2 separate regions of the Homo sapiens genome follow, and region 2 is linked to region 1. The links are contacts of gene promoters, found by promoter capture Hi-C in blood cells and fetal thymus (Javierre and others, 2016). All regions are on one chromosome and are shown on one strand. Each heading gives the region's core, a stretch centred on a gene start or on the middle of the fragment in contact. The rest is flanking DNA. Distances are from core to core; before and after follow the strand shown.

Region 1 (2,700 bases), core at 167-2,666:
AGATTTCCTCTACAGATGCAAATCTCTCCACAAAAAGACAGCTTTTTGGTTATTCTATTTCCAACCATTCTGAACAGCCACCTTGAAATGTGTCAAAGAAGTATTTTTTGGGGTGAAATATTTTGGTTTCCTTCAAGTTCTTGGGCTGGGAAACATCTTTGGGTGCATCTTTTCTCTCTAACCCCATCTAAAGCTTTCAGGGAACACGGATCCCATCTCTTTCTGCTTAAGGGCGGCTGAGTAGCTCACAGCTGGGGAGTGAAGTACCCTAAGTAGTGGTGGGATTTCAGACACCTGGAAGTGGTTAATGGAAGCCGAGTTTCTTTCTGGTGCCCCCAGAGCACACTGTAAAGGAAATTCTCAGCTCTAAGTGGAGAATCCTGGTTAGGGGTGCGTAAGTAGGGGACAAAAGCCTTGTGCTCGGCACTGGACATCAGTTGCTTTTCATGTTTCTTCATTTAATCCTCAAAACAACTCCTTAAGACAGAGTTTCTGATCCCCATCTTACAGATAAAGAAACAGAAGTTCAGAGAGAGCCATGAAGTTACATGAGATCCTCTACTTCAGGTGATCCCTGCGGTGTGGGAACCAGAGGCATGGTGTTGGTGGTTACTGACGTGCAAAGTCTCAGAGCTTCTTCATCCTTGCTCCAGCGTACCCAGGAGTCGAGCCGGTATTTGGACAGTTTTCCTTGAGTTTCTGCTCACCTTATGAATTCCATCATGCCGTTCTGCCACACCCGAAGGCTCCCCCACTCCCCATGAGAATCTATCCCACGGAGAATGGGGCACGAGGAATGGTCAGGAAAGGCAGATGCAGGATACACACTGGACATCTTTGCTGTCGATCAAGGTTGCAGGCGCCAGAGTCCTCCCTAAAGGAGAGACCTTCCTTCTCAGTGTGGCTCAGGGAGTGGGAGGCAGGATCAGGTGTAGGGACCTCGAGGTCTCATTTGGTTTGAGAATGTCTGTATTTAGGGGAAGAAATCCCAGGATGAGTGTCTCAGGGACGCTGGGGAATGGTCCCCCGTAAAGGACCCAAGACAGGGCAGCCCTGCCTGGGTAGGAGTGGGGCACAGAAAGTCCTTGGGGGAGCAGAGCAGCGGAGAAGAGGCCCGGGCCGGCCGAGGCTGCGGAATGCTCAGGCCCGAGCCAGAGGGAGGTGGGACCGAGGGCTGCGCGCCTGGGCGAGCCGCCTGCAGCCGCGGCCAGGGTCAGGGTCATGAGGGCTGGATCGAGGGGAAGGAGGGGGGTGGGATGGGGAGGGAGGGCGCGGGAGGGCATCCCGCCCCAGAGGCCGGTCCCACTGGGGAGGGGAGGAGCCAGAGTTGCTGGAGGGGGTCCAGGAGGTGGGGGTGGGAGGAGGTGGGGGCCGCCCCGCGAGAAGAAGAGCGGGAAGAGGCGGACAGCGAGGCCAAGATTTCAGCTGCGGGACGGTCAGGGGAGACCTCCAGGCGCAGGGAAGGACGTGAGGAGGGGAAGCGGGCTGGGGCGGCAGCCGGGCGGAGGGGCAGCTGCGCAGGCGGAATGAGGAACGCCTTTGCTCTAAGGCGACCACCCTGGCAGCTCTTCACTGAGGGGCCTCGGTTTCCACATCTGTCGCTCTCCGGTCCCAAGACCACCAGGACCGACGGGGCTCTCCGGGAGGGTCAGCCCCTCCGGTGGCCCCAGTCATGCATCAGGGGACGGATCAGAAGGGCTAGGAAGAGGGGTCGTGGGGAAGGCCCCAGAAAAAAGAGGAAGGAGGGAAGATTTTGCCTGAAGCGGGAAAGCCAAGGGCTGGGCGGCGCGAGACCCCCATTCCTAGCGACTGGGGCTGGCTGGTGGCCCGCGGCAGCCCCCGCGCCGGGAGGATTAGGCCTCCCGCCGCTCCCACCCGTCCGGACCCTCCCACGTGTTTAGGTCCTCCCAAAAGTATTCGGCCTCCGGCCCCTGCCCCTTCCCCCGGCTGGCCTGGACCTCGGGGACGTGGGGGGAACCCCGTGGGAGCAGGGGGATTCTGGACGGGGAGGGAGTAGCGGTTGGGGAGAAGGCTGAGCGGGGAAAGGAGAGAGGGGCTCCGGGGACGGCAGGGAGGAGAGTGGGTCGTGCCGGAGACCCAGGGAGAGACACAATGGGCAAGATTAGGGGTGTAGGGTGGGAGTGCGAACTGACTGATTCCTAGCGTGGGCAGGGAACTTTGCTAAAACTGCAGGCCCCAGGGAACAGCGCGGGCAGGGTGGGAGGGAACGGAGAGGGCCAGGCGGACCCTAAGGTCAATTTGGAGAAAGGGCCATTTCCAGGCTCCTTCACCTGTGCCCAGCGTTCTACAGGCCTGGACCCCGCCCCCGCTCCCCACCCTCCCCCCAGAGCAGGGCGCGGGAGGAGGCGGCTCGGGCTGGCTCGGAGAGCTGAGGGGCGCACACCCGCTTCGCAGGGCCAGGGTGACACGGAAGCATGCGACGGCTGCTGATCCCTCTGGCCCTGTGGCTGGGTGCGGTGGGCGTGGGCGTCGCCGAGCTCACGGAAGCCCAGCGCCGGGGCCTGCAGGTGGCCCTGGAGGAATTTCACAAGCACCCGCCCGTGCAGTGGGCCTTCCAGGAGACCAGTGTGGAGAGCGCCGTGGACACGGTGAGTAGCATGGCCCGGGCAGGAGCGGGGAGGGTCGTACCCCAGGAGACCAGCGCATTCCCACGAAGGGGGACAGAAGTGCTTGGGCTCT
Region 2 (2,700 bases), core at 76-2,575, 430 kb before region 1:
CCTTTTCTTAACAACCTCAAGCATCTGTTACTTTTTGATTTTTTTTTTTTTTTTTTTTTTTTGGTGAGATGGAGTCTCCCACTGTCACCCGGAGTGGAGTGCAGTGGCGCGATCTTGGCTCACTGCAACCTTCGCCTCCCAGGTTCAAACGATTCTCCTGCCTCAGCCTCCCAAGTAGCTGGGATTATAGGCATCTGCCACCATGCCCAGCTGATTTTTTGTATTTTTAGTAGAGATGGGGTTTCACTATGTTGGCCAGGCTGGTCTCAAACTCCTGACCTCATGATCTACCCCCCTCGGCCTCCCAAACTTTTTGACTTTTAATGATAGCCATTCTGACTGGTGTGAGATGGTATCTCATTGTGGGTTTGATTTGCATTTCTCTAATGATTAGTAATGTTCATTTTTTCATAAGCTTGTTGGCCATGTATATGACTTCTTTTGAGAAGTGTCTGTTCATGTCCTTTGCCCATTTTTAAAAGGGTTTTTGCTTGTTAATTTGTTTAAGTTCCTTATAGGTTCTGGTTATTAGACCTTTGTTGGACACATAGTTTGCAAATATTTTCTCTCATTCTGTAGGTTGTTTGTTTACTGTGTTGGTAGTTTCTTTTGCTGTGCAGAGGCTCTTTAGTTTAATTAGGTCCCATTTGTCAATTTTTGTTTTTGTTGCAATTGCTTTTGTTATCTTTGTCATGAAATCTTTGGCAGGGCCTATGTCTAGAATGGTATTCCCTAGGTTTTCTTTTAGGATTTTGTAGTTTTGGTTTTACATTTAAGTCTTCAATCCACCTTGAGTTGATTTTTGTATATGGTGAAATGAAGAGGTCCGGTTTCAATCTTCTGCATATGGGTAGCCAGTTATCCCAGCACCATTTATTGACTAGGATGTCTTTTCCCCATTACTTGTTTCTGTTGACTTTGTTGAAGATCAGATGGTTGTAGGTGTGTGGCTTTATTTCTGGGCTCTCTATTCTGTTCCATTGGTCTATATGTCTGTTTCTGTACCACACCGTGCTGTTTTTTGTTACTGTAGCTCTCTAGGAAAGTTTGAAGTCAGGTAATGTAATGCCTCCAGCTTTGTTCTTTTTGCTTAGGATTGCTTTGACTATTTGGGCTCTTTCTTGGATCCATATGAATTTTAGAATTGTTTCTTCTAATTCTTTAAAAAGGTAATTTGTAGTGTGATAGGAATAGCATTGAATCTGTAAATTGATTTGGGCAGTATGGCCATTTTAACAATATTGATTCTTCCTATCTATGAGCATGAAATGTTTTTTCATCTGTTTGTGTCATCTCTAAATTCTTTGAGCATTGTTTTGTAATTCTCATTGTAGAGATCTTTCGCCTCACTGGGGTTGAGAATTACAAAACTCTCCTTGGTTAGGGAGGTGAAAGATATTTTACTGAAAGAGATTTGAAAATGCCTAGGTATTTTATTTTTTTCTGTGTGCGTGGCTATTACGAATGGGCTTGCATTCTTGATTTGACTCTCAGCTTGGACGTTGTTTGTGTATAGAAATGCTACTAATTTTTGTACATTGAGTTTTTATCCTGAAACTTTCTTAAAGTTGTTTGTCTTGAATCTGTAAGAGCTTTTGGGCAGAGACTATGAGGTTTTCTACATATAAAATCATATTGTCTGAAAACAGAGATAGTTTGACTTCCTCTCTTCCTATTTGAATGCTTTTTATTTCTTTCTCTTGCCTGATTGCTCTGGCTAGTACTTCCAGTACCATATTGAATAGGAGTGGTGAGAGTGGTCATCCTTGTCTTATTCCAGTTTTCAGTGGGAGAGAGAGGGAGAATTCAGAGGGAGAGAGAGACAGAGTGGGAGAGAGAGAATCATATTTAAAGTGTACGATTTAATAAGTTTTGACACATATCCATTGGCCCCCCCCAAAATATCCTCATGACCCTTGTCAGTCCTTCCTCCTGACACTTCTCACCCCCATCCCCGGGCAGCCACTGACTTGCTTTTTGTCACTATAGAATAGTGAGCATTTTCTAGAGTAAGTGGAATCACACCATATATACTATATGTACTCCTTTTGTTTGACTTTTTCCACTGAGCATAATAATTTTGAGGTTCACCCATGTTGTGTGAATCAGTAGCTCATATCTTTTTATTGAGAAGTCATATTCCATTGTATAGATATGCTACAGTTAGTTTATCCATTCACCTGTTGATAGATATTTTGTTTATTCCCAACTTTTGCCTATTGCAGATAAAGCTTTATGAATGATCAGGTATAAGACATTTATGAACACATGATTTCTTTTCTCTTAGGAATATACCTAGGAGTGGAATGCCTGAGTCATATTATGGGTGTGTAAGATTACTTTTTAAGAAACTGGCCAATTGTTTTCTAAAGTCATTGCACCACTTTTTTTTTTTTTTTGAGATGCAGTTTTGCTCTTGTTGCCCAGGCTGGAGTGTACTGGTGTGATCTCAGCTCACTGCAACCTCCGCCTCCTGGGTTCAAGCAATTCTCCTGCCTCAGTCTCCTGAGAAACTGGGATTATAGGCGCCTGCCACCACACCTGGCTAATTTTTTTTTTTTGTATTTTTAGTGGAGACAGCATTTCGCCATGTTGGCCAGGCTGGTCTTGAACTCCTGGCCTCAGGTGATCTGCCTGTCTTGGCCTCCCAAAGTGCTGGGATTACAGGCGTGAGCCACTGAGCCCGGCCAATTGCACCAT

The links. Contacts are between HindIII fragments. The CHiCAGO score rates a contact against its expected background, and 5 or more counts as called.
Region 2: a fragment that was not itself captured here is called in contact with the fragment with the promoter of RARRES2 in region 1 in 9 of 17 cell types (non-activated CD4 T cells, activated CD4 T cells, naive CD8 T cells and 6 more); the score reaches 16.0 in non-activated CD4 T cells.

What each region holds. Positions count from the first base shown.
Region 1 is chr7:150,340,345-150,343,044 of GRCh38, reverse strand. RARRES2 (retinoic acid receptor responder 2) reads left to right here and starts at 1,416. Exons shown (of 6, transcript NM_002889.4): 1 at 1,416-1,467; 2 at 2,416-2,609. The coding sequence starts at 2,436. LOC107986858 (a long non-coding RNA gene) reads right to left here and starts at 1,200. Exons shown (of 3, transcript XR_001745420.3): 1 at 708-1,200. RefSeq lists a silencer at 2,308-2,377. The HindIII fragment of the contact is 3,952 bases long and covers 196-2,700 here.
Region 2 is chr7:150,772,088-150,774,787 of GRCh38, reverse strand. The region is part of intron 2 of LOC105375566 (a long non-coding RNA gene); the gene reads left to right. Among named protein-coding and RNA genes, the nearest start is that of TMEM176B, 27 kb to the left of the region's middle. The HindIII fragment of the contact is 1,816 bases long and covers 418-2,233 here.